Linked DNA regions of Homo sapiens: all the other regions are linked to region 5. The links are contacts of gene promoters, found by promoter capture Hi-C in blood cells and fetal thymus (Javierre and others, 2016). All regions are on one chromosome and are shown on one strand. Each heading gives the region's core, a stretch centred on a gene start or on the middle of the fragment in contact. The rest is flanking DNA. Distances are from core to core; before and after follow the strand shown.

What was found. Contacts are between HindIII fragments. The CHiCAGO score rates a contact against its expected background, and 5 or more counts as called.
Region 1: the fragment with the promoter of GLRX2 here is called in contact with the fragment with the promoter of TPR in region 5 in 1 of 17 cell types (M2 macrophages); the score reaches 14.3 in M2 macrophages.
Region 2: a contact is called between the fragment with the promoter of TOR1AIP2 here and the fragment with the promoter of TPR in region 5, in 7 of 17 cell types (total CD4 T cells, monocytes, naive CD4 T cells and 4 more). The highest score is 20.1, in total CD4 T cells.
Region 3: the fragment with the promoter of AXDND1 here is called in contact with the fragment with the promoter of TPR in region 5 in 2 of 17 cell types (naive CD8 T cells and total CD8 T cells); the score reaches 8.5 in naive CD8 T cells.
Region 4: the fragment with the promoter of UCHL5 here is called in contact with the fragment with the promoter of TPR in region 5 in 12 of 17 cell types (total B cells, naive B cells, M2 macrophages and 9 more); the score reaches 22.6 in total B cells.
Region 6: a contact is called between the fragment with the promoter of FAM20B here and the fragment with the promoter of TPR in region 5, in 2 of 17 cell types (total CD4 T cells and activated CD4 T cells). The highest score is 7.0, in total CD4 T cells.
Region 7: the fragment with the promoter of CDC73 here is called in contact with the fragment with the promoter of TPR in region 5 in 5 of 17 cell types (M2 macrophages, naive B cells, non-activated CD4 T cells and 2 more); the score reaches 14.7 in M2 macrophages.

Annotation. Positions count from the first base shown.
Region 1 is chr1:193,102,919-193,106,952 of GRCh38, reverse strand. GLRX2 (glutaredoxin 2) reads left to right here and starts at 1,539. Exons shown (of 4, transcript NM_197962.3): 1 at 1,539-1,689. The coding sequence starts at 1,571. RefSeq lists silencers at 1,361-1,600, 1,380-1,674, 1,651-1,750. The HindIII fragment of the contact is 5,966 bases long and covers 1-3,053 here.
Region 2 is chr1:179,875,868-179,879,981 of GRCh38, reverse strand. TOR1AIP2 (torsin 1A interacting protein 2) reads left to right here and starts at 2,179. Exons shown (of 7, transcript NM_001199260.2): 1 at 2,179-2,289; 2 at 2,609-2,743. RefSeq lists an enhancer at 1,845-2,204. The HindIII fragment of the contact is 9,006 bases long and covers 1-4,114 here.
Region 3 is chr1:179,364,215-179,368,074 of GRCh38, reverse strand. AXDND1 (axonemal dynein light chain domain containing 1) reads right to left here and starts at 2,104. Exons shown (of 26, transcript NM_144696.6): 1 at 2,075-2,104; 2 at 1,469-1,671. The coding sequence starts at 1,565. RefSeq lists enhancers at 1,704-1,773, 2,154-2,553. The HindIII fragment of the contact is 9,843 bases long and covers 157-3,860 here.
Region 4 is chr1:193,057,636-193,061,389 of GRCh38, reverse strand. UCHL5 (ubiquitin C-terminal hydrolase L5) reads left to right here and starts at 2,030. Exons shown (of 11, transcript NM_001199261.3): 1 at 2,030-2,205. The coding sequence starts at 2,130. It overlaps RO60 (Ro60, Y RNA binding protein), which reads right to left and starts at 1,778. Exons shown (of 9, transcript NM_001173524.2): 1 at 1,614-1,778. RefSeq lists enhancers at 879-1,611, 1,679-2,208, 1,612-2,344, 2,369-2,678. The HindIII fragment of the contact is 5,498 bases long and covers 1-3,754 here.
Region 5 is chr1:186,372,886-186,376,636 of GRCh38, reverse strand. It overlaps TPR (translocated promoter region, nuclear basket protein), which reads left to right and starts at 1,384. Exons shown (of 51, transcript NM_003292.3): 1 at 1,384-1,759; 2 at 3,174-3,278. The coding sequence starts at 1,609. It overlaps ODR4 (odr-4 GPCR localization factor homolog), which reads right to left and starts at 799. Exons shown (of 14, transcript NM_017847.6): 1 at 663-799. RefSeq lists enhancers at 770-959, 1,130-1,179, 1,340-1,639 and a silencer at 2,200-2,249. The HindIII fragment of the contact is 6,872 bases long and covers 1-3,254 here.
Region 6 is chr1:179,023,291-179,027,249 of GRCh38, reverse strand. FAM20B (FAM20B glycosaminoglycan xylosylkinase) reads right to left here and starts at 1,356. Exons shown (of 8, transcript NM_014864.4): 1 at 1,152-1,356. RefSeq lists silencers at 570-1,309, 1,350-1,539. The HindIII fragment of the contact is 5,476 bases long and covers 1-3,959 here.
Region 7 is chr1:193,120,255-193,123,925 of GRCh38, reverse strand. CDC73 (cell division cycle 73) reads right to left here and starts at 1,895. Exons shown (of 17, transcript NM_024529.5): 1 at 1,595-1,895. The coding sequence starts at 1,725. RefSeq lists enhancers at 1,458-1,507, 1,107-1,751, 1,778-1,847, 1,752-2,398 and a silencer at 2,008-2,087. The HindIII fragment of the contact is 13,310 bases long and covers 751-3,671 here.

The sequences.
Region 1 (4,034 bases), core at 290-2,789, 6.7 Mb before region 5:
GGTAAAATTTGACTTCAAAACTAACATAACACCATAAATTTCCAAAATAGTTTTATAAAAAAATTAAAAAGCCCACAACACTATAGATAGATAACATACCTTAATTTTTATTTTATTTTATTTATTTATTTTTTTATGAGACGGAGTTTTGCTCTTGTTGCCCAGGCTGGAGTGCAATCGTGTGATCTTGGCTCACTGCAAACTCTGCCTCATGGATTCAAGCGATTCTCCTGCCTCAGCCTCCCGAGTAGCTGGGATTACGGGCATGCGCCACCACGCCCGGCTAATTTTGTATTTTTAGTAGAGACGGCGTTTCACCAATATTGGAGGGGCTGGTCTTGAACCCCCAACCTCAGGTGACCCGCCCGCCTCGGCTTCCTAAAGTGCTGGGATTACAGGACTGGCCACTGCGGGAGCTGCGGCAGCTGCGGCCTCTGGGTACGGGGTCAGCGGGCAGTCCTGTAATGGCCACATTACAGGACAGGCCATCGCGCCTGGCCACATGCCTTAATTTTCAAAGTCAAATTTGTCTTTAAAAAGAATGAATTCCTACCCTTTGGGGGTATTTATTTTTGCAACTAACTTCCATCCTTTTATTAAGTAATCAAACATAGCCCATTTGAATGTTGGAAAAGAACTGTCAGAAATACAAGTTCTTATTTTGTACTTTGGTAACATGAATTTTACACTTAGTTGAACATGAAGAATCAAAAAAGCTCTGGATTGTTGTAATAATTGTTTAGAATTTTAGATGTACCATTTGACCTTTGACTTTAAGATGAATTTCAGTGTCCTCAGTAAATAAAGGCTTACCCCCAACCTTAAATAGTGACGCACAAAGGCTATTATTACCACCACTGAGTGGCTTAAATAATCCTGTCAACAGCAATCGCCCATTTCCAAAGCCATGGTGAAACATCTCTGTGCTAATTTCTTTTGTTTTGTTTCCTAATTTTTTTTTTTTGGCAGGTGGTGGGAAATAATCTTTGTCTTCTTTGGAGTAAACCTTCAACACCGGATTTTTTCTTTTAATTATGGATGTAAACCCCAATATCCCCATAATTTACATTGGGTCTCGACCAATTGCCTAATTATAAGAGGATATATTTAGGCTCTTATTTCATCCACACAAAAACTTGTGTAACAGGTAGTTGGAAACATCTGAGGCACCACTTTGATTCTGTTTTGGATGGTCATGTTTTTTCTCCTCCGTTTCCCCAGCATGTCTGCCACCATCCTCATGCACTGCTTCCAAGTGCCTGGGAGCCTTTATGAGCGTCCCTAAACCTAAAAGAATCCAGAGGCGGGGCTCGGATGAACCCTCGAGATAAGCAAGTGAGCCGCTTCTCCCCTCTAAAGGATGTTTACACGTGGGTGGCACTCGCTGGAATCCAGCGCTCGGGCAGCCCTGGGAGGACGCGCTCAGCTGCGAGGAGGTGACCGGCGGCGGCGCGGGCAGTCCGGAGGGGCGGGACGGGGCGGGGCAAGGCGGGGGCCGGGCCGGAGGAGGCGGGCTCCCGGGATCCGCGGTGTCCGGCAGTAGAGCTCGCTGCAGATCCGGGCTCTGACCATGATTTGGCGCCGCGCGGCGCTGGCGGGGACGCGGCTGGTTTGGAGCAGGAGCGGCTCGGCAGGCTGGCTTGACAGGGCGGCGGGAGCTGCGGGAGCTGCGGCAGCTGCGGCCTCTGGGTACGGGGTCAGCGGGCAGGAGTGCCGCGGCGTGGTGCGCAGGCCTTGCGGGGGTCTGGAGAAAGCGGTGGGCGGAGGTGCCCCTTTGCCCCGGCGCCGGGTGGGCGAGGCGTACTAGCGCGTGGGCTCTGAGTCATAACACGCAGAGGCGCTCGAGGGATGGGCAGGGAAGGGTGCCCTCCGCGGCTGTGCTGACTTCAGGAGCCTGTGACTCTCGCGTTGAAAATACTTCACTCATGTTCACTTAGGCCATCCCTCTGTGAATTGCTACATAAAATACAAGACGCCGCAATCAATTGGAATTTCTCTGAAAGAGCGAATGATTCTTAGTCCAAGTGTGTCCCAAATACTGCAGTGGACATAGGAAAAACGGAACAGTTTTCTGGTGTTTGGTTACAATTCTAATTTGACCGGGCGTCCTGCATTCTTGTTTGCTAAACTTAGCCACCCTACTGCAGGAAGTGAAGGCGATGATTCCCGCTGAATGGCCAGAGCTTTTAGGATAGAGGCTGACTGATGGTGATGCCGCCTGCGGCTAGACCGAGGATAGTGCTTTCCTTACACTTCCTCGTTTGGAATATCAGCGGCTTCGGGACCTGCAGTGGAAGGGAACTGCGGCTGTGCTGCCCACGCCCGCGCGGCTGGTGCCTGGCGGTCCTGCCGGCTCGCACTTCCGCGCCTGCCACTGCGCACTTGGCCGGAGAGTCTGTCTCGCTATCTACTTGATCTGGGAGCTTCTATCAGTTTTGCAAGATTCTAGGAATCTCAAGTTTAACTTTCCAGACCAAGCTAGAGACCCCTCCTGAAGGGCTAATCACAGGCTGTTAAGTGTTTGACAGCTCTTTGAGGCCCCGCCGTGTTTTTTTCTGCGTATCCCTGGGGTCAATATAGCACTTTGCCTACTTAGCACACAGTAGGCGCTCCATAAATGTGGCATGACTAGGTGCTTCATCTGTGTTGAAATGAAATGTTTATTGTGCACTTACTTCCTCCGTGCATGTTTCTATTCATAGTTCGCGACAGTTTTTACCAAGGTCAACTAGAAATTGAAGGGAAAGGGTGTCTTCCAGAAACTTTTATTTGGGTAATATTTCAGAATGCACCTCCTACCTCCTCTCACTACCCAAGAAAACATTCTCTTGTGTTCTATTGGAGCTCCTTCAGTAGTAAATGCTGTAGTAGATGGTTTGGGTATGACAGTTTAAGTGCTGGACCTGAGATGAAAGGACTTGCTTTCTTAGTTGATAAACCAAATACAGCTTGCTGATTTATTCCACCAATGCTCTTCCTTAGGGCTAGGCCAGTGCTGCCTAACCTTTTCTGGTTTAGGCTTCAGGAACTCAACTTTCTTTTATCTTAAAGCTTCACCCTCCTCTCAGGTTGGCTGCAGTCTCCCTAGCTCGCTACCCTTAACTCCTTCCTGAGTTAAGCGCACAGGACTTTTTTTTTTGTTTTAAAGTGTTCCTTGCTAATACTATTAGGAAGCAAGGAATAATAGATTGTAAACATTGGGTAGGTTATAATGTTATAATGTTTAATTCCTGTCTCTTACTCTTCTTTGTTATAACTGAACAAACTGATGTTTGCTGTAGCTTCCTCACTCTAGGTGAGCTGATATCATAATCGTTCCCCCTTATCCGTGGTGGACACGTTCCAAGACCCTCGGTGGATGCCTAAAACCTCGGATAGTACTGAACCCTATACATGCTATTTTCCTATACATACTTGCCTATGATAAAGTTTAATTTATAAATTAGGCAGAGTAAGAGATTAACAACAATAATAAAAGAACAATCACTTTAATAACAAAATGCTCATTTCAAGGAATCCCTTGCTGAATCTTCTCATAGGCCCAGTGCTTTTTGGCATAACACATTGCTGTCAGTTGGAACACTTTTTCTGTTCTTGTCTCCACAAATTTAATACCTTTTCTGGCTTAACTAAGCACTTATACCTTGTGGCTGTAACTTGCAGTTTGAGGTGTGACATCAAAACTGCCATGAATTTTTTACTTCTTTACAACTGCACTGATAGAAGATCCGTTCTTACCATAGACCTTAGCAACCTCAGCGTGTGATTTTTTTTTTCCTATTAGGTGGAGAACTTTCACCGTTTCACTTAAAGGAAGCACTTTAGGGCTTCTCTTTGACGTACCTGAATTGCCAGCATCACTACTCTAGTGGTTTGGAGCCATTATTATTATTATTATTTAAGACGGAGTTTCACTCTTGTTGGAGCCATTATTAAGTAAAATAAGGGTTACTTGAACACAAGCATCACCACACTGTGACAGTCGATCTGGTCACCAAGACAGCTGTTGACTAAAGCGTGGGGAGCTTATACAG
Region 2 (4,114 bases), core at 930-3,429, 6.5 Mb after region 5:
ACTGTGACTGCCTCCTTCACCTAGAAACCTTACAGATACGAAACTTTCATCACTAGCTCTGAGGCAAAGCTAAACTGTTATGAAACTAGATACTCTGCTGTAGCTATTATCCAGACTATAAGAGTGGCTGAAAAGAGGTGACATTACAGTGACAGTAGAGTCATAGCCAATATTATAAGGGATGCGCTGGGCCACTAAAAAAGGATGCCTCAGCTCTGGATATTAAAGTTACTTTGGGAATTTGAGAAATCTGGAGGAATTCAGTGACCCAAAAAAGAAGACCGGTAAGAAAAGAAATGATTAAAACAAAGAATACACTTAATAATTCATTTACTTATCAAACGTGTGCCAGCAATGAGGAAGACTATCTTTAGGGAATTTGTCATTTATTGGGAACGACAGAAACACGAAAAATTACAATTCAGATTAAATGGCATTAATTCACACACTTAACTATTAGGGCTAGGTCTGGAAATCCTGTGCTCTTGAGACTGGGTTCCTAAATCAGTTATTTTATTTCATTTTTAATTAATTTATTTATTTAGAGACGGAGTCTCGCTCTTTCGCCTAGGCTGGAGTGCAGTGGTGCAATCTCGGCTTACTGCAGCCTCCCCCAACTCCAGGTTCAAGTGATCCTCCTGCCTCAGCCTCCCGAGTAGCTGGGATTACAGGTGCCTGCCACCATGCCCAGCTAATTTTTGTATTTTTAGTAGACATGGATTTTGCCATGTTGGCAAGGCTGGTCTTGAACTCCTGACCTCAGGTGATCCATCCGCCTTGGCCTTCCAAAGTGCTGGGATTACAGGTGTGAGCCACCACGCCTGGCCAAAATAATTATTTTAAATGAAACATTTTAGAACAATAAATTTTTTGTACAGGAACTTTTTGCTTTAGGGTAAGCAGAAGTTCATTTATTTAAAGAGATAAATCTATCCGTTGTGACTTAGTAGTACAAATGAAGTAGGCAAACAATTTTAATAAGGAAAAGATGATTAAAATATTAAACAGGAGGAAGTTAATTAAAGACATAGTAGCTGGCTCCATTTATTCCCCAGTCTTACAAATGATAGAAAAATATTTTAATGACAATACAAATGAAAATTCCTGGAAATGTTATACTGAAATTAATTAAACACAATAAAGTGAATGGAATATAGTATTCTTTTTGTTGAATTAGGACTTGCAGTTAATTATTAAACACCATCCAAGAGTGTTACCAAATCCTGTCACTTCTGCCAAGAGAGGGTGATTGAGAAGTGAAGGCACCAAAAATCACATTAAATGAGGAATTATTAATTCAATAAATACTTGAGCTACTGTGTAGTAGGCAGTCCCTGTTCTCTGTGCTGGGGATACAGCAGTGAACAAAATAGACTAAAAGACAAAAAATGTTTCCTGCCTTCTTGGAGATTATATTCTATGGGAGGAGTCGGGCAAAAATCAAAATAAGTAAAATAGTGTGTTGGTCAGGACTGTTATGGGAAAAAAAAGAGGAAAGGGGAAGGGAGTTTTACATGAATAGATTTCTTCTTGAAATTTGGTTAGATTTGTCCTGAATTGCTGTAGGTCAAGAACAGGAATTTTAGACTTACTTCATTTTTCCCCCAACAAATTGTATGTTCTTGGGTAAATTGCTCGCCATCTCTTAATTTTCACATTTATAAAATTAGTAGATCAAAACAGCTATTTTTTGTCACTACTGTCATTTAACAGAAATGCTGCATACGTCATCTAATCTACTAATAACAAACTTATGAGGTAAGTAACGTTGTCCCCATTTGACACACGAGCAAACTGAGGTTTAGATTAGGCAACTCATTGGATTACATGCTCCTCTTAATGGCACAGAGGGTGTGTTCCAGGACATGGTGCTTGCCATTATCATTTGGTACTGCTGCTCACTGTGTTGGTCCTATGAGTTTCTTCAGTCTATGAATTTCAGGTCAGGGTGGTCGACGTCTTACAGAGATGCCTGTAATCCTGTCAGCATGAGATTGCATGGGACCTCTGCGGTTTGGTCGCGCATTTACCGCGCCTGTCGCTGGGTCAGACGACCTGGCAGTAGAGGGTGAAGGATGGAGAAGGCAGAAGGCAGGGCACGGAGACTACTAGTCCCAGGATTCCACGGGCGCCTTCCGGCGGAAAGTGTTTGTCATATGGGCGGGGACCCTGGACGACATTCGGGCCGCGGCGGCCGCTGGGTGCAGCCGAGCGGTGTGGAGCGGAGAGAATACTCGAAGGGCTCTCCTGATACTAACAGTTTTACGATTTAAAACTTCGCCAGAATTTGTAAGTAAACAAAATGACTATGCAGCTTTTCCATGTTTTAGTATTGAAACTGATATCTTGAATTTTTGAAAAGGACTTTCAGAAACGGTCCCTCCCCACCCCCACCTTCGTACCGCACAAATGGTATTTTTATTTTTATTGTTTTTGAGACAGGTACTTGCCCTGTCACCGAGGCTAGAGTACAGTGGCGTGATCATAGCTCACCACAGCCTCATACTTCTGGGCTCAAGGGATCCTCCCGCCTCAGCCTCCCAAGTAGCTGGAACTACAGGCCCGCACCACCATGCCCTACTAATTACTTTATTTTTTATTTTTATAGCGACAGGGTCTCACTGTATTGCCCAGGTTGGTCTCGAACTCCTGGCTTCAAGCGATTCTCCCACCTCAGCCTCCCAAAGTGCTGGGATTACAGGCGTGAGCCACCACGCCTGGCCTCACTCAAACAGTAAACGAGGTAGGTTGGGGGTATATTTTTGTTTTGGGATAAAAAGAAACTGAATCTTATAAATATTAAATGGGTTAAGATGTGAGTAAATTTTTGGGTTTAGACTTTAAGGTGAGAAGCCGAATTATTTTAGGGTTCGAAATGTGAGTGGGAAATTTGCCTACTAGTGTAGGCGGCGATTACTCCATTCCCAACATGCCTAGGTTCTCGACATTCATAATCTTAATCCTGAAAAGATAATACTTAAAAAAAAAAAAAATTGGTGCTAAAAAGGGCAAAGTTGAAGTTTTAGTAAGACCTCCTACCATTTTGCTTACATATTATATATGTACCATTCTCCCAATTGTATTTAATACCTGATGAAAAAGTTTGTGCCTTTTCCTTCTTTTAACAAATTTCATAGTACTCTCTACTTTATGAGTAATGCTTAATTATCAGACTTTATACTGTTACACAGATCCAGAAATGAGTTACATAGATTAAACATACTGGCTTTGTTTTACCTGTCTTTAGGTTTTAACACATTTTATTTTGGATCTGTATGAGAGATCCTTTCTTTGTTTTAAGCTGTGGCAGTTATCCATGTTTTTTGAGCTTTTTTTTTTGAGCACAAGATGAGGATATAAAAGGCCAGTGGAAACATTTAATAAAAAAAGGAACTTCATGGTAGAGTAACTACAGATGTTTTTGGAAGACTTTGTGTGGATTAGAATAGTTTGAAAAACTAACATTTGTTATGAAAACTGAGTGCCTGTCTTCAGTAATGTTTATTATGCTGAACGTGCAGTCCACAACTTGATTACCTGTTTTTCTGCTGGTTTGTTACGCAACCTTGCGTGACTCATTTAAGAACTATTTTATCTAGTTTCTTTCCTAATGTAGAGGTAATGCTAGCTTGAGAGCTTCAATAATTTATAAATAAATTAACTTCAGAATGTAGCTAATTATTTGAGGATTATTGGGTGTTTTAATAATGTATTGTATCTTGTATATAACTTATTTTTGCCTAAGAAGTAATTTCTGTATTCCATTCATTTCCATGGAACACAGAAGTCAAAATTCTATTCCAGGAAAGTCCACACTTCTTTGAAGTGCCACTTGAATTTCCTGAAGGAATGTTTGCTTCAAAAAGCCTTGTCTGCTTTATCACTTTGAGGTTGTTCACTAAGTCAACTGTGAAGGCCCATAAACTTGGAGATTCGACAACTTCCAAAAAAATTTAAAGAATGAAGAATTGGCTGTTTTATTTACCATTTAGAATTTTGATTGTGTTAAAATTTCATTAATATTTCTACATCATATGAACTACTGGATTAAACTGTGTCCTACAAGAAGGAATTCATAGGGCGATCATATATTACCATAAATTTTGCACAGAAA
Region 3 (3,860 bases), core at 855-3,354, 7.0 Mb after region 5:
TAAGGAGGTATCATGCTTTGATTACTATCAAAAGTTGTTAGGGTTTACATTACCAAATCTCCTGAGAGCTTGAGATCAAAAGAAACAGAAGAAAAAAAAAAAAGTTGGGTGGGGCTTGGGGTTTTAGTACAAGGTGCAGGTGAGATGGGAAAAGCTTTAACAGAACCGGGTAAGGATAACACTAGCTGACTCTAGTACAGATCCGCATATGAACGAAAATCTTAAGGAATTGCTCTCATTTAGAAAAATTACTAAAAGCTAATACAAATTGGCACATTGTACTAAATTGAGTTTCTCTTATCTCTGCTATTACTTTTTGTTTCTTTATTTACTTATTTGAGACCAAGTCTACCTCTGTTGCCCAGGCTAGAGTGCAGTGGCAAGATCTTGGCTCACTGCAACCTCTGCCTCCCGGGTTCAAGTGATTCTCCTGCCTCAGCCTGCCGAGTAGCTGGGATTACAGGCGAGTGCCACCACACCAGGCTAAATTTTGTATTTTTAGTAGAGACCGGGTTTCACCACGTTGGTCAGGCTGGTCTCAAACTCCTGACCTCGTGATTTGAGACGGAGTCTCGTTCTGTCGCCAGGCTGGAGTGCAGTGGCGCAATCTCGGCTCACTGCAACCTCCACCTCCCGGGTTCAAGCGATTCTCCTGCCTCAGCCTCCTGAGTAGCTGGGACTACAGGCACGAGCCACCACGCCCCCCCTAATTTTTGTATTTTTAGTAGACAGAGTTTCTCCATGTTGGCCAGAATGGTCTCAATCTCTTGACCTCGTGATCCGCCAGCCTCAGCCTCCCAAATGGGATTACAGGTGTGAGCCACTGTGCCCGGCCTATTTATTTATTTATTTTGAGATGGGGTCTTGCTCTTGTCTCCCAGACTGGAATGCAATGGCTCGATCCTGGCTCACTGCAACCTCACCTCCTGGGTTCAAGCGATTCTCTTGCCTCAGCCTCCAGAGTAAGCTGGGACTACAGGCGCGAGCCACCATGCCCGGCTAATTTTTGTATTTCTAGTAGAGACGGGATTTCATCATATTTGGCCAGGCTGGTCTCGAACTCCTGACCTCAAGTGATCCGCCCACCTCGGCCTCCCAAAGTGCTGGGATTACAGGCGTGAGCCACCGCGCCCTGCCTCACTATTACTTTTTCCAAAGTTCCTTAAAGCCAAAGACCAGGAACCAAAAAATACGTAACTATTGATATTTAAAATAGGTTGAATTTAAAATCATATATAAATCAACATTTGAAAAAAAGTATAAACTGTATTTAGATGGAGTAGTGAAACAGTACTCTGACTCAAAATACTGTAAAAGGAATGACTTCTTGCTTTATTTAAGCAAGTGTGTTAGAAAAATGTAGCCAATCAAGGTATTCTGAATATCAGATTTAAAAAACCGGTGAATGGAAGGTGATTTCTGTCTTACGGCCATGACTGTTTATGACTTCAGAATCAACGAAGTTTACCTCTTGTCCCTTCCTTGGCTACAGACACTTTTAACTTTTTGCTCTCAGATGTTGATGTAGAGTTTAGCGGGGTGGAGGGCGTTTTCGGGAGAGACATAATAAACAATGCCTCCTATCTCTTTAGTAATTTGAAATAGTCCTCCGGAAAGCTAATTTAGACACAAATCAGCGCCGCACTGGGACTTGCAGGCTGCCACATAGTCCTGCAGGCAGAGGAAAAAAGATTTAAAAAAAAAAAAAAAGATGACAACTATTGAGTACTTAGGTTCAGATCGCAGTTTAGAATTCATCTAGCATGGTTCTCCTTCTTCGGGGCGACCTCTATGTTCTGGGGTTATGTGTAGCGACTAAGAAGCCTTAGTGGACCGTCAGGTCGGGGTCAAGGAGCAGGGCAGGAAGGACCCGCTCGGCGGACCCCGCAGACCGCCGGCACCCCTGGTGGGGGACACTCGCTGCAGGCGGCTCGGCTGGGGACCATACCTTCCCCACAGGCAGCGCTCTCGCGCGCCAGTTCCACAAACTCGCGAGTTGGGCAGGCCTCGCACTGCTTCTTGGTTTAAAATGACGGGAAAGGGACACCCGCGATCCTACCCACACATTGCGTACCCGCCCAGCATCCGCTCACTTCCTCCTTTGCTGGAACGCCTGTTTGTCGTCATAGAAACCCAGGGCCCCGAGGTTTAGCGCCCTCCATAGGGGCTGCCTTCAGCGGTGCCGGCGGAGGAGGGAGACAGCTAAGACAATCCCTACACCCTCTTGGAGTTTCTTATGTTCTAAGTCACAGCATAGGTTCAGTAGCAAAGGAGAAGAAAAACGTTTAATCCCGCCGTTGTCACGGAATCCGAAAGTGTCTCACGCCGGGGCTTCCTGCCGCGGGCCAGGCCAGTGCGCAGGCGCCGGTGGGGGTTAGCTCGAGGGGCCGACCCCTGTAGCCCGTGACGCACGCGGGTTAAGCAAGGGTCTTCTGAGTTGTTTCCATCTTTCTAGCTCTCTTTTTTGTTGCTTTGCATATTTTTCTTTCTCTTTCTTCCTCTTTTTCTTTCTTTCTCTTTTTTTCCCCTGAGACGGAATTTCCCTCTTGTCGCCCAGGCTGGAGTTTAATGGTGCGATCTCGGCTCACTGCAACCTCCACCTCCTGGGTTCAAGCAATTCTCCTGCCTCAGCCTCCCAAGCAGCTGGGACTACAGGCAGACGCCACCATGCCCGGCTAATTTTGTAGTTTGTTTTTTGTTTTGTTTTGTTTGAGACGGAGTCTCGTTCTGTCGCGCTGGCTGGAGTGCAATGGTGCGATCTCAGCTCACTGCCACCTCCGCCTCCCAGGTTCAAGCGATTCTCCTGCCTCAGCCTCCCGAGGGACTACAGGCGGGGGCCACCATGCCCGGCTAATTTTTGTATTTTTAGTAGAGACGGGGTTTCACCATATTGGCCAGGCTGGTCTCAAACTCCTGACCGCGCCCGCCTCGGCCTTCCAAAGTGCTGGGATCATAGGCGTGAGCCACTGCGCCCGGACGCTTTGCATATTTTTCTAAAAGCCAGACTCAGGGGGATGTTGGGTAATAAGAAACGCTGGGTCCCTTATTGGGTAAGCCGTCCAGTGCTTTACATTTCGGTCACGTCTTCCTTGGACCCTTAAATGCCTCCCCCCAGAGCACAAGGAAGGCCTCCTGGGCCCAGATTTTTCACCCCCTTGGGGCAGGGAAGGAGGATTGAGCTTAGGTGGAACCAGCTCAGGTATAATTGTCGGGGCTTCTGGCGTGAAAATCTGCCCTCAGGAAAGAATACCATCAGCGGCCGGTGGCTCACGCCTGTAATCCCAGCACTTTCTTAGGCCGAGGCGGGTGGATCACGAGGTCAGGAGTTCGAGACCAGCCTGACCAACATGGTGAAACCCCGTCTCTACTAAAAACACAAAAATTAGCCAAGAGAGGTGGCGCGCGCCTGTAATCCCAGCTACTCAGGAGGTTGAAGCAGGAGATTCGCTTGAACCGGGGAGGAAAGGGTTGCGGTGAGCCGAGATGGCGCCACCGCACTCCAGCCTGGGCAACAGAACGAGACTCCGTCTCAAAAAAAAAAAGAGTATCATCAGAGCCTTCGCACTGAACTGAGGCTCGGTTCGGTGAGGGATCATTTCTTTTCTTTTCTTTTTTGAGACGGAGTTTCACTCTTGTTGCCCAGGCTGGAGTGCAATGGCTCGATCTCGGCTCACCGCAACCTCCGCCTCCCAGGTTCAAGCGATTCTCCTGCCTCAGCCTCCCTAGTAGCTGGGATTACAGGCATGCGCCACCACGCCCAGCTAAATTTGTGTTTTTAGTAGAGACGGGGTTTCTCCATGTTGGTCAGGCTGGTCTCGAACTCCCGACCTCAGGTGATCCACCCGCCGCGGCCTCCCAAA
Region 4 (3,754 bases), core at 781-3,280, 6.7 Mb before region 5:
ATGAAGTCAAAGCTGACATATCTATGAGAGTGCATGACAAATGTAAAGAAACAACAATAGAAAATTGGGCCCATGATAGAGGTTTGTTTACCCATGATACAGGTATCTGAATCCACTGATCAATGTGATGCTATAAAAACTGATGAGGAAGGAACTGTGGCAAAAATGACAGCATGCTAGTCTGAGGGGAGCTGCCAACTGGTTGCCACGTGGTATGGAACTAGTAGTTGCCAGATCTCATTTTTCTCAAAGACCCAGAAATCTGGCTTTTTATGTAAACTCTCAGGATTAAACGTTAACATAATGAAAGGCATCTTAACCCCCTTCTCTGCTTACTTCTAGATTGTGCCAAAGGCTAAATTTTCAGTTTGGTCTTTCTACAATAGGTACCATGTTAATTAAGTTGGGTATCAAGTACATTTTAGTTTTGATGTATTTTGCACAGAAAACATTTTCAAGTTCATAGCAATATTACAGATTAAAAAAAATACCACAAACTACTTTGGGCTCTGATGCCAATCATTCTGGACTCTGTGCCTCTTAAACTTTTCCAATAAAGTATCTCAAGGAAATATACTGTACAGAATCCTCCTAGTCTCCAAGTTGAGGGCAGAGTTTCCGGAGATAAACTTCAAGAAAGTTACAAAAAAAATTTTTTTTAAACCAACACTTCATACAAATTTTGGCTTCTACCCCATAGCGTACTCAGGCTCCTTTTAATACAAAAGCTGCTCTGTTGCTTCCCTCAATAAAATTTACCACGTTTATTTCATGGCTTCACATAATCTGTAGCACAAGGCTCCCTAACTCCAGGGCACAAGTCACCTATTTGAGAAGGAAGGAGTCAGAGTTTTACCCACTAAAACATTTTTTTTTTCTGGAAGCCAAAGGTCTTTCTTGGAATATGTAGCTTTTAAGGAGTAAATATACACTTAACGACTTCAATATACTCTTAAAAACTTTAATCTTAACACTATAGTATTCTATAAGAGCCTGCTGAATGAGGGCAATTTAGTAAATATTTAGTAAATATTTGGTTTAACTCATCATCCAGTTTTAGAACCATTCCAAATGTTTTTAGATTAATACACGACATTTGTTTTCAACCTAATTTTCCCTTGACGCACCGCATCCCCTTCCACTAGTCTAGCAGCCCCATGGACAAACCTTTCTCCTCTCCCTCGTTATTCCTCTGTGATAAATTCACCCTGTCTTCCCACAAAGATCCTTCTTCCAAAACCCAGATCCCGGGCGACGCCTCTCCGCGCAGAAGCCGCGGGAGAAGGAGGAGAAAGAGGAGGAGTAAAGCAGGCCCTCTCGACGTCGGCCTGTGGGGAGCGATGCCGACAAGCAGGAGCGGTCCCGGCTTCGGAAAGGGCCCACCCTGAGGAATGGTCCGGCCGGGCCTAGCGAGGATGTCCCTACCGCGATGCTGGTTCCGTTACCCAGGGTGGACAGGCGCGGAAGCGGGACGGGGAAGAGCGATAGTTTCGCGGCGTTTGCCCAGCCTCAACCCCTGGGATGCGGGTGAGAGACATGGAGGACTGGTCAGAATTTGCGCGTCCCTGGGGCCGCACAAAAGGCTCCCAGCCGGCCTCCCGCAATGTCCTCACCTGTACCTGGCAGCCGACCCCCTGGATCCGCAGCGCCGCCAGGAGAAGTCCTGCGCAGCGCTGGGAAACGACAAAAGAAGGCAGCCTGACGGGCAGCGACAGCCACAGCAACAGCAACAGCCCCACTGCCGCCGGGGATTCCAGGTTCGGTTCCCGGGAACGAGTCCTGCCCCTCTTCTTTTGCCCCGCCTCCGCCCCAGAGGGGCGAGGATCCCGGATGTTGCCTCCTCGGCGCTGTGAATCACCGCCCTTTCTTCTCAGGCCCCAGCCCTTCCGAATCCGCTACGGGTGCTGCAAGGCCTGGGAAGAGTTTCGATGTCTCTAGGGTGGCTAGAGCGTCCTCCCGCGCTCAGTCGCGCTGCAGGTGACGGCGCCCGGAGGCTGTCGGGAAGTAGGCGGGGTGACGTGTGGTTGACGAGCTCGGCGGCGGGTTTGCTGAGATCTGTGGCCGGCGGCAGCTGGTGCGGGGGGCAGCTGAGAGCGAGAGGTGGATCGGGGCGGTGTGTGGCCAGGGCCATGACGGGCAATGCCGGGGAGTGGTGCCTCATGGAAAGCGACCCCGGGGTCTTCACCGAGCTCATTAAAGGATTCGGTGAGAACCAAGGGGACCGTCCTGGGCCTGGGGTCACGGGAGGAGGCCCAAGCTGGGCATGGAGTGGTTCCCTGCGGCCACCGCCGCCCCGCGTCTGGAGAGGTGACTTCAGGAACCTGGAGTCCGGGTGGGGGAAATGTAGATGTTCTGCCCTCTCCTCAGCTCGAGACAGTCGCGTTTCCACAGTAATTTGTAGAGCCACACCACGAGGGCAAGGATCGTGTCAGTCTTGTGCCTGCTGCATCCTCAGGACCTGGCACCCAAATCCTGTAATTGACTTGAGGGCCCTCGCTCCCCAAGCTCTTAAGCACGTATTGCCCTTTGCACTGCCCCTTCTCTGCGGCGCGCACCTTATCCCGGGCTGGTGAGGTCAAGTGCATTGCTCAGGCCATTAGTCCTGCAGAAGCCACCCTAGGGTGCGCCTTCTCAAGGGTGAGGTGTCTGCGGCTCAAGCCGCCCAGGAACTCGAGATTCTGGTTATTCAAAGCAGAACGCCTTGAATGTGTGAATAGCTCTTCGGGACGTCCACACACGCTGACTGCGTGGGCCTGAAAGGCCACTTCACTGGTTCCGCTCTCTGCTCATTTCTGGCTTCCGGTGAAGTGAGTTTTCTTGAGCTAGTGTTCTAGACTAGAGGCCACATGCTTTCCTCACAGTTTCTCTCTGGCTGTATTTAGTGCCTTTCGTCCTAAATAATCAACACATTTTACTTTTTATCCTTCCCTATTTATCTTGTTCTTAGTCTCTTCTTTGGACAGTACGTTTTTATCTATTTCCCAAGTGTTATTGACTCTACGATGTTAAAACTTTTACGCGGGATTAACAATTAAACGTTGATGTAGATATTGCCTGTTGTACACAGCTTAATATTTGGAATGTCATTTATCAAGCATATGTTGTTCATCTTCTATATCTCAGGCACAGTGGTAAGGATTGGGAAATTTTCTTTTTTTTGTTTGAGACAGAGTCTCGCTCTGTCGCCCAGGCTGGAGTGCAGTGGCGCGATCTTGGCCCACTGCAACCTCCATCTCTCGGGGTCAAGCGAATCTCCTACTTCAGCCTCCCGAGTAGCTGGGATTACAGGCACGCGCCACCATGCCCGGCTAATTTTTTTTTTTTTAGTAGAGACAGGGTTTCACCATGCTGGCCAGGCTGGTCTCAGCTCCTGACCTCGTGATCCACCCGCCTCGGCCTCCCAAAGTGTTGGGATTACAGGCGTGAGCCACGCGCCCACCCAAGGATTGGGAAATTTTCATGTGAATAAACCATAACTGCTGTTTCGAATAATTGACAGTCAAACTATAATATGGTGTGTTAATTGCTATGTTAGAGTATATACAAAATGTTAAAAGTACACAGGTCATGGAGGAGCACAGCCAGAAGGAAAAGCATAAACAGTAGTGATGTTAAAGTATATGGGTTAGCCAACAGCTAGCAAAGTGACTAGAACATAATATAGCAGACTGGAGGAATATTTATTTGGATCTGAAACTGAAAAGATAAACTGAGGACAGATTGTATGCCATGTTGTATAGTTTGAATTGCCCTG
Region 5 (3,751 bases), core at 135-2,634:
GTTATTACAAAATATCATAAAATGCTTCCATTTATATTTCTTAGACGGCTTCACAACATGATTCAAAAGTAAGAACTAGAGAAAAAGAATAAATTTCATATAAGAACTAAATCACCAATTCACAGAAGGCCCACGACTGTGGGAACTGCAGAGAGACGACACTGGGAATGCATTATTTACAATGAATAATTTAACAAATTCTTTCATAAGAGTAAACACGAAACAATCTACGGATTGAGCTTTAAAACTACAGAATTATGATCTGGAACCATACAAGTTCTGTTACTGTAGAAATTAACAATGTGTTTAAAAACTTCAGTTACAACAGTTTTCAATTTTAAAAACAATATAATGTTAGGTAACCGTTTCTGCAACGAAAAATTTAAAACATAGGCTACACTCAAAGTGCTACCGGTTTCTTTTAATTCTCCTCCTGAAGAATTAACCCGGGTCCTTAAATTCCCGGGTACTGAATCACTCAGTGCCACCTCCCCACCACCAAAAACCATTTAGGTACGCCGTTTCACACAAGGTAAGTTCGTCAGAAGTGTGTGCCGGAGTGACTGTCCATATGGTTCCAACACTGTCCCTTCCTTTTTCTCTTGAAAAGAGAGCACACACACACACACACACACACACACACTACACTTAGGCTGACTTACCTGTTTTCAGAATGTGCACTCGTGGCAGACAATTACCTCGGACGGTCTCTCCGCCGGAGATGGGGGTTTCGGGCCCAAGTACCAGCCTCTAGGGGCCAGATTCCCTCCGGTCTCAATTCACTGCCACTGAATTCATCAGAAAGCGACCTACTTCCCACACCTCACTTCCCACTCCAAAGCCAGGGACTTGGGAGTCAGGTGGCGCAGATTGATGACGTAAAAGCCCCCCCTCCCTTCCCCGCAGAGCCTCAGCCAAAGCGACTGCGGTCGCCACCCCGCCCCCTTCTGGGCGCCATAGAGAGCGTGGCGGTATCCCGGAGCCTGCCGTCCGGCCCTACCGGGACCGATGCCCTCTAGTGGCTCAGTGTCCAGAAGCCGCCAACGAGGACGATCCATGGCATCCCGGGGCTTTGACGGTAAGGTCACCAGCTCTTCAGGGAGGGCCAAGGGGTGACGAGTACGTATGTGGCGCCACCGTGCGGACAGCGGTTACGGGGCCGAGATAGGAGAGCCAGGGGAGCGGGGAGAAAAACGGAAGCTGAGAGGGCGGTGCAGCATTGGGCTCCCGGAAAAGAATGAGAAAAACACTACATTTCCCAGAGCCCTACAAGGCCTGAAGTGGGTGGAGCTGGAAGCCGGAAAATTGGGTGCGCAAGAGGATCAGGGATAGCCTCTGAGCTCGGGTTCCCAGGGTTCGTAGCTTCCAACGGCTGCGCGCGCACTTCGGTCGCGGGCGGTGAGGTGCTGTTGCTGAAACGCTGCCGCTGAGGGTGGACTCGATTTCCCAGGGTCCCGCCGCGGGAGTCTCCGGCGGGCGGGCGCGCGCGAGCCACCGAGCGAGGTGATAGAGGCGGCGGCCCAGGCGTCTGGGTCCTGCTGGTCTTCGCCTTTCTTCTCCGCTTCTACCCCGTCGGCCGCTGCCACTGGGGTCCCTGGCCCCACCGACATGGCGGCGGTGTTGCAGCAAGTCCTGGAGCGCACGGAGCTGAACAAGCTGCCCAAGTCTGTCCAGAACAAACTTGAAAAGTTCCTTGCTGATCAGCAATCCGAGATCGATGGCCTGAAGGGGCGGCATGAGAAATTTAAGGTGGAGAGCGGTAAGTGAGATGCTCTTTCCGTCCTTGGTTTTGGGCTCGACTCCCGCCCTTTGGGTCTGGTCTTCCCCCATCAAGTTGGCACTGGGTACCGCTCTGTTAACCTCACTTCCTGGGCTCTGTGGATATCCTGAGCCTTCGCTTTCCTGCTCCTTACAGTTTGATAAGAAGCCTTTGAAAAAAAAATCTGAATCTAAGTTCAGTAGCATTTTCTTTGTAGTTAGGGTAGGCTCATACAGGGACGCTTATTTTCCTTCGTCCGGCAGACGGGAAACAGACTTGATAGAGTCTGCGAACCCATCTCTCTAAGCCTAGAGTACCTTATATGTTTTGTTGCACTTCAACTGATAGTGGCTCCGCCCTATTTTCTAGGCACCTGCATTCTAGGCCTTTGCCAAATTGACCACTCTGTGCACTTGTTCTTAGTGTGTGCGTCGTCCCGTGGCTCCAGAACGAATCAGATGTTTACAAAAATGAATATTAGGTGCATAAGAGCGCTGGAAACACAGTGAATGTGCAGTACATAAATTTAATATATCTTGATTTCTCTTAAAAAGTTGGAGTTTGATAGAAAACATTAAAATTTTCTTGTAATTACCTAAAGTAGGCCTTTAAGTAAGAAAGTTACTGACAATAATGGCTTGAACATCCTTGAAAAAAATATGAAGAATATAGTCATTACCATTAGTAAAATACAAACTTCCCGTTAATGTGTTTTGGTTTACCATTTGTTTGGGGAGGTTCATACTGTTCTTGCTAAGTTGACTGGAAATTCTGAACAAGTTTTTACTTCAAAAAAAGTGTAACTGTCAAGCAGAATTGACCTTGAAAATTAGTTCTCTGATCCCAGAGCTGAGTATAGTACATTGCATTCTATTTATTAATTTGCACCATAAATATTGAATGTCTTACATGTTCCTGATACTATGCTGAACATGATATTCAATCCCTTCCCTTGGAAAGTTTACACATTTACTTTTACATATATTTAGTAGTTTTATGCTTTCAGGTAATATCTTGACTACTATAAAAGAAGTCTTTTAAAACAAAGGAGTTTTTTTTTGTCTAAACAATTTTTTCTCGTGTAATAAATACTTTATTTATTAAGCAGTTTACTGATGTCTGGAGAAAATACTAAGATAAATGAGGTTACCTGCCTTGAAGACATTGATTTGTAAAGCCCCTTTTAGGCCTTATTTTTATTTTTTATTTTTTGTCATGTAAGTCGTTTGGAAATGCTTTAAGTCCTTTTCAGTGCTCAGTCTATTTATCTTTACTCAGATTCTCTTATGTGGAGCACAATTCTAATACTGTATCTTAAGTTTTAAAATCAAGGTTATTAGAAATAAATAACAGTATTCACAATGTATGTACATGTGTTTGATTTTGTTTTTTGTTTTTTGCTTGTCTGCTGTAGAACAACAGTATTTTGAAATAGAAAAGAGGTTGTCCCACAGTCAGGAGAGACTTGTGAATGAAACCCGAGAGTGTCAAAGCTTGCGGCTTGAGCTAGAGAAACTCAGTAAGTATTTAATTCATCTTTGTAAGTATTCTCGGAGTATCGAAATCTTCAGAGACTCCTTTATATACTTTGGAAACATTTGCTTACTAAACATGAAAATATTGATTAAGCATCATTGGTTTTTATTATGGTGATATTTTGATTTTTCACTTAGTGGTAAAGATTTTGTGAGAACACAGAATTTAATGGTCAGGAGGTCTGGATTCTTATTCTGATTTTGCTATTAAAATTGCTTTTGCCACATGTAAATCTTAACAGTATCTGATTATTGTTTATAAAATGGTTAGACCCACATGTCTGTCTACCTAGACAGCTTTGTAAATCAAATGAGATAAGAGTTCTTGAAATCTTTTTAAAAAGGTGAAAGCATTATGCAACTAAAGAAGTAGAGAGTGGCTTGTTTTTATGTTGAAGAATCGAAGCCTATTGATTTCATTATATTTATGTTTTAACTCCATTTTTTAATAATTTTT
Region 6 (3,959 bases), core at 107-2,606, 7.3 Mb after region 5:
TACAACGCAAAAAACATAGGCGTGGCTAATAAATGGCAATAGTAATTTGTACCAGATTATAGATTTATAAAGTCCTACAGTTTAAAGGCTAAAGGCTAAAAAAAACCCCACATTCCTACTTCCCTTCCAAGTGAGAAATCAAACCTCCAGAGGGAAGCTGGCTGGGTGGGGAAGATGCTGATATCTGGCACTAGACCCAAGTCGCAATAGCAAGCAACTCTCATTTTCCCAAATTAGAAACTCCTTATCCATCCCAATGATGGTATGGTCTTTAAAAGGACTAATAATTCCATTAAGACTAACCAAGCCCTGTTACCCCTACTTTCCCTCCAATCCATCCTTCTACCCCTTCTCTTCTTATCCGGAGACTGGCAGGTTAACAGAAGTCAGATTAGAATGAATCTCTTATCAGAACCCACAATCAAGGACGCAGCTCGACAACTATTCACATTCATCATTAAGGGAAACGTATCGGTCCGCTCTTAATCGCGGGGCCGTCACACCCGGAAATGAAATCTCAAGCGCAGCCCACTGAGGGCTAACACAGCATTCGTTAAGTTGTGCCCTTCTGCGAGCGCCCGGCGCAGGACCCCAGGAGACCGCGGGCCCCGGGCACGGTTGCCCCGCCTTCCGCCTCCGGCCTGCAGGTCACTCGCGCTTCCCGGCCACGAGGCGGGCCCAGCAAAGACCCCGCGAGGGCGCGCTCCCTGGGCTGCCTCAACGGGCGCTCCGGGGAACACAAGAGAGGCACCGGGGCCAATCGCCTCTGGGGACCGCGCAAGGGGACGAGAGACGGTCACTAGAAGGACCTCTGGCAGCCTGAGGCGGCCCCAGGTGGGCCCGCGCCTCAGGTGGGCCAGGGACGTGGCGGCCGAGGCCGCGTCCCTTCAGCCGCGACCGCACACAGGGACACGCGGCCCGAGCGGGTCTCCCAGGAAGCCTCGGGCCCTCGCCCGGGACCCGCCCGCAGCCACTCGGGGACGGCTCAGGGCACCCGGTGCCCGGCCCCTCAGGGAGGCGCCCCGCCCCCAGGCGGCCCCAGCCCGGCGCGCGCTACGTACCGTGCCCCGCCCGCGTGCCGGTCCGCATTTTCCCGCCCGCCGCGCCGGGGGCGGGGGTCGCGCGCCCTCCCCCGCCCCCGCGCCACTCACCTGTCGGGCCCTAGGCTCGCTCCATGGCCGCCCGCGCGGTGCGGTGCGGCGCGGCCCCGGCCGCCCCCGCCGCCTCCGGGGAGGGGCAGCCCCACGCCGCGCTCACCGCCCCCAGCCGCCGCCGCCGCCACAGCGGCTCCGGCCCACCCCCGGCCCGGCCATTCCCAGGCCACCTCTCGCCGCGCAGAGCGGCAGTCCCACACCCACCCCCCCGCCTCCGAGGCCCCCGGCTGTTGGTACCGTCCTAGCGTAGCGCCTGCCCGACGGCCAATCCCAGCGCTCGCTCGGCGCGGCCCCGCCCCCGCCCAGTAGGCGGCCCCTACCGGACCCGCTCCGGACTGCCCCCCTTAACCTCTTCCATACCGGGCCCGTCCGCTTAACTCCCTCGGCGCCGGCGCCGGTCTCCTGCCGGCCGCGCCGCCCTGCCCGCTTACATAAACTGGCCTCTCACTTCTCACTTCCTTCGCTCTTTTTTCTTTTTCTGTATTTGTCCTCCATCCCCCACCCCGTCTTCTCTTTTTCTTTCCTGCTTTTCTTAGGTAGGTAGGCAGCCAAGCAGCAGGACTGGAGAGTTGCGGTCCCCTAGGTCGAGTTCTGTTTGTGAGAAGCATTTTCCCTCCTCCTGTTGCCTTTTTAATTTGCCTTGACTTCTGCTCGGAACTTCTGCCTATCTAAATGTATCCCCCGCTTCTTTTGCCCAGAAAAAGGCTAGCCTTTCCACACTGAGTGCAAATGGCTCTTCATTCGGACCAGAGCGGAGCGTCCTGCTACATACTTTCAGGAGCATCTCACAAAATTATGATTCATTTACTGTAATATTAGTTGTTTTACATCTGTTTTTTGCTAAGGACCGTAAGCCCCATGAGGGCAGGTCAGTCGCTCCTGGGTCGCCAATGCCCGACCGTAGTGCACCCAGTGGGCGCGGATAAATCGTGTGAATGAAAGATTCTGCCTTCCCTTTGTTTGCTTTCAGCTGACTTATACAGAGCCGCCACTGTGTCCATCCATTTATTCACCATATACTAAAGCGCAAACTTAGTGTGCCTGACCCTGAAATATAATGCAGGTTACTCCATGGAATAAGATGCGTGATGGGGAAAGACTGAGCTGACACTTTTTCTTCAGGCCACATAGTTCATTTAATCAGTAAGGCGTACTGAACAGAATTCTTTCTTACTGGCTGTATGATACTGGATGTGCCAGTTAACTTTGCTGAGCATCAGTTTCCTTAACTGGAAAATGGGAGTTAATAACTTCACAGGGTTGTTGTAAGGATTAAGTTAGGAAATGTATGGGGAAAGTACTCTAAGATTATTGTGTATGATTAGGTGTTATTCGTCTGTATATTTGCTGAGCATTTACTATCAGGAGATCCTAGAGAAATAATTGGGCTTGACACTTGCTCCGGACAATGTAGTTAGGGAGGCAGCATTAATCACTGCAGGAGACGTACAGTCAAATGCAGAAGGCATTGTATTAGCTTTTTGCTGCGTGTAGTTGAAAAGGTTTGGAGGTTTGGAGGTCGTTTTCTGGCCGGAGAATACATAATTCTTGGGAAAATGAGCTGGAAGATAATGAGAATCTACCTTATTTCTCTGCACAGGAAGATCAGTCTGCCTGCAGTTAGCTAATCTCCCTGAACCTTGCTCACTACATCAGGAGACCATAAAGCAAAAGGGTAAATCAACAGTTCCTTTAAGACACTTTATCCAAAAGGATTCTCCTTTCTTGCCTGTAACTCTGACAAGGACAGTGAGGGTGAACGCTCCAACTGTCACTGTTCAGGAAAAGGCCAGCTTATCCTGCAGCCTCAGCTTCCTGGGCGGATGATCCCTTCTGTCTTTAAGGATTTTCAGGTGAGGGCAGGGGGCAGTCATTGCCTCTCCAAGCAACCCACTTCAGTGCTTAATTTCGCATCCATCTATCCATCCCACATACTGCAGGACAGACACACTTCCTCCTTTTCTGTCCTCAGAGAAGGAGAGCTATGGGTTCAGGGCCTCTCTGTGAAAGGCTTTCAGACGACAAAATTGTTCTGCCCCCCAGTTTTCCCTTCTCCATGTTGCATTACCCAGGCCCTTGTTGAGTGTATGCATAGCACCAGCACCGTGCCTGACACTCCATGATGTCAGTTTCTGCCCCCTCCGCCTGTACGGGATTATTTTCCAACCAATCAACAGTCAATATATTCTAAGTATTGTGAGGGATGCAATCATTTAAGAAGGGCGTTTACATGACTAGCACACAGGAAGCAGCTGCAAGGAATAGGGACACTTAAATTATGCAGCACAGACTCTGTGATCACTGAAAGAATCACAGTCCAGGAAAACAGTGTGGGCTGGTATTGAGGTGAGCAAAATACAGGTAGGAGAAGAGAGGAACAATATGAACCAAAGTTAGGCAGTGCTCTGTGAACTTACAGCCGCCATCTTCAGCAGATCCTGCGTGACAGGAGAATTGTTCATTTGTTTGTTTATTCATTCATTCACTGATGCATACATTCATTCATTTAATGAATGTCTACCAAGTGCCAGGCACTGAGCTACCAGACCATGCAGAGATGAAGAAAGCCTGGTTCCCATTCTTGAGAAGCTGGCAGGAACCCCAATTAAGGAGGTCTGAGCACTTTGTCAAGACTCTTGTGATGCTCCTTTTACCACTCATACGATGTATGGTTCTACATGTCGTTGTCTAATCTCCTCTTTGCCCTTCTTCCTTGTTCCCAAACTGCAAGGATTTTTAAAGACATACACTATTTCATCTTTATTCCCACTTGTAGAGTGCCTCATACGAAGTACCTTCTCCACA
Region 7 (3,671 bases), core at 646-3,145, 6.7 Mb before region 5:
AAGACAATTCTATGGAACCTTCTCCTAAATAACCCCAACTAGAAGTGACTGCTGTCTTCAAAAGCTATTGTAGAAAGCATTTCACATCAACTTATAGAAAGCATTTCACATCAACTTATCTGTTTAATCTCCTCTATTCAGACTAAGTTAACCTCCTTTGAGGTAGAAACCAGAGTCTTAGGAATTTTTTTAATCCTCAGATTGAACCACTTCACACCCTAGGTACTCCTTAGCCATTGTCTAAAAAAAAAAAAATTCACTAAAAATCCAACCACATGTAATTCTACCTATGCAAATTATTCGAAAGGGTAAAATACCAGAAACTCAGAATGTCATTTGATCAACATTTTATAAAGCTAATTAAATCATAAGACAAAAAAATTTTAAAACCAACCAATAGGCAGGGCGCCGTGGCTCACGCCTGTAATCCAAGCACTTTGGGAAGTGGAGGCGGGCAGATTATTTGAGGTCAGGAGTTCGAGACCAGCCTGACCAACACGGTGAAACCACATCTCTACTAAACTACATAAATTAGCCGGCCATGGTGGCGGGGGCCTGCAACCTCAGCTACTCAGGAGGCTGAGGCAAGAGAATCACTTGAACCCAGGAGGCAAAGATTGCAGTGAGCCAAGATCGCGCCACTGCACTCCAGCCTGGGCGACAGAGCAAGACTCCCTCTCAAAAATAAATAAATAAATACCAACCAACAAACTAAATTTCCCTAGTTTTTCATCGACTCTTCATAAAGCTTCCATTCAAAGAAACAAAATGAGTAGGGAAGTTGTAGCTCAAGGTTCTAATTCTAGAAGCGATGCACCAATGACAGTGACATCATTAAAAAGGCCCCTAATGACTGTTAGAGCCGTCTCTAGAAGTTTTCCTGAATGACTTAAACTGATAAAACTTCACATGGACCAACATTCCCAAACATTTCCCTTTAAAATACACTTCCGAAAAATCACACGCACCATCTATTTCTTAGATCTGTAAAGCTCACTCATTTCACCAACTCCTGAAGACCTCTCTAACACAGACTTTTATGACTCTTCCAAATTCACCAAATTTCTTTCCGGTCCTAACTTCAGGGTTGATTCCCTTTTCTCTTCTACAGGAATCACCCCCACCCCAACAATGAAAGGAGATGAAATAAACCAGGAGTTGCAAAGACCAGCGGAGATAGTTACATAGCAGCCTGGAAAAGAGAAAAAAAAAATAAAGAACAAAAAGAGGCGTCTACGGCACCAGACGGTGTGCTCCTTTGTGCACCTATGTTCAGGTATCCCTTGCGCACCAGTCCCACACTTCGCTGGTACACATACCTACTGATAAAAATTAACTGTAAAAGTCAGAAACTCCCACGGTACCTTTCCTTTGGGCTTCTCAAAAATTTTAAGTGATGAACTGCTCTAGAGCTCCGCCCCTTCTTTCCTTACCCTAAAAGTGCAACTTCTGCTCTAGAGAGAAACTTTCTTTTCCCCGAACACCCGTTTTATCCCATCCCCAGGGGAAACGGGGGGAGGGGTTAAGAAAGAGGTCGCCTGGGGGCGCCCAACTCTGCCCTGCCACCCCTGGGCCACAGCCATGCCGGACTTACCCCCAAACAACATAGTTGGTCTTCACATTCTTGGGCCAGGAGAACTCCCCGAAGATCACTTCGTCTCCCTTCACCACAATCTCCTTCTTCTGGATGTTGTACTGTCGCAGGACGCTAAGCACGTCCGCCATCTTCCCCCCCCTCGCCTCCGCCGGCTCGGGGCGCCGCCGCTGCCGCCGCGCCTGCCTCCTTCTTCTCTTGTCGCCTCGCCCTCTTCCTCCTCCTCCTTCGCCGCCGCGACGAACCAACAGCAGCAGCACTAACAGCCGTCCTCGCCTACGACAGCAGCAGGGGCAGTAGCCACCCAGGCCGCCGAGGACCCCGCGCTGTAAGGCAAGGCCCCGCCGCCGGCTGCCCGCGGAGAACGCCTGACTGCGCCCCTCCAGCGAGGCACATCCGCCGCCAGGGGGAGCCGCGACCGCCTGGAAAAGTGCCCCTCCCAGACTTCAGCTGGGCACGGAGCCCACTCACTCGCTGAAACGCTGAGCGCTGGGGCACCGCGCCCACGTACGGCGCACGTACGGGGAACTTTGCCGGGCGCGCGCGCGCGGAGCACGTACCCAGTACCCCGCGGCGCGCACCAAGCGGCGTCAGGTGCGCGCGTACCTGAGCAGTGGGTCAGCACTTCCATCCCCAGCACGTGCACTGAGTATTTAACGAACTGTCTCGGGTGCGACCAGAGGCTCCCCCGGGTCCCTGCTTTGGCCGGGATGGAATTCGGCAAGGATTTGCGGAACACTAGAATTACCTTCCTATTTAGATCGGACCCAGGCCTAGCCAAAGACCTCTAGGACTTAGTGATCCGGAGAAGCCCTTTTGAAAGAGTGGGGCTCTTGGGGTTGGGGTTGGGGTTTTTTGTTTGCTTTTGATGTGGAAAAGAACGAGTTTTGGTTTTTTGTTGGTTTTGAGTGGAAAAGACCGAGTCCAGAAAAAAAAAAAAACAGTTCTGGGCACTGCTCGTCAAGTTACATAGCTTCTCACAGCATCAATTGGTTAATGAAGAAAATGGGGTTAATACGAAGATAAGGTAAACGCGCCTAGCAAGTCAATAAAATATCCTAAATGTTGGATCCTCCCTCTTCATTCTTTGGATGATGACTTTTTCCATCGCGGTCCCTTCTCCCCGCCAATCCCGAAGGGCTATATTCAAAAGGCTGTGTTCCAAGATGTAAATGGGAAAGTTGCCCTAACAGAAACCCCAAACGGTCCAATTTAGAACACTTCCAGACTACCCAATTTTTTAAATGGTACTCAGAAGTCTCAGTGGTGTCCTTGACATGCGTTTTGAGACGGTTAAGATAAGTTCAATATACTATGGCCAACCAAACACATCCTATGGGATTGTTTTTTTTCTTTTACCATGTCAGAAGGAAAAAAGAGGCAACTTTGTGTTTGACATAACCAAATTCCTTGACCTGTTTTGAAAAAAGTCAATCTTTTCACAACGCAGAGGACTACAGATACAGAAGTGTGTGGTTCATTTCCGATATGATCTGTAGCCATTCTGCAACTGTTAGTTTGTGAAATTTTTTTCTGTTCCACCAATGTTTTCACCCCGTAGTATTCTCCTGAATCTCACCCCAAGCACACACATTATAAAGAAATGGCTACAATTACCTATCCCCACATTCTCTATTCATACCTGTGTCAGAGCACTCAGTACCATATTACTTCCCTTTATAGTTTATTTGCCTGCATCCACAAAACTGAAACACCATAGATCTGTGTCCTCATATCCTACTGTCTAACATTATTTGGTACATATTAGTAATAAATGGATGAATTCAATAAATTGATGGAAGCTCCTAGTAAATATCGAGTTAATACATGGATAGAGGCTTCTAATAAATGTTGAAGTAATGAATGGAAAGATAAGCTCAAGGAAGCCAAGATTTCATGATTAGGAGGCTCGACTATAGTCCCTTCAAACGATACTTAATTTTATTTCATACTCAAATAATGATTAAAGTCTCTCTTTTCAGAGAAATTATGTTTTTTAGGTTAATGAATTTTAAAAAGTGGTAAGATAAGTCATTAGTAAGTTGTTGCTTTTAACAGTTAAAGCATTGAAATTTGT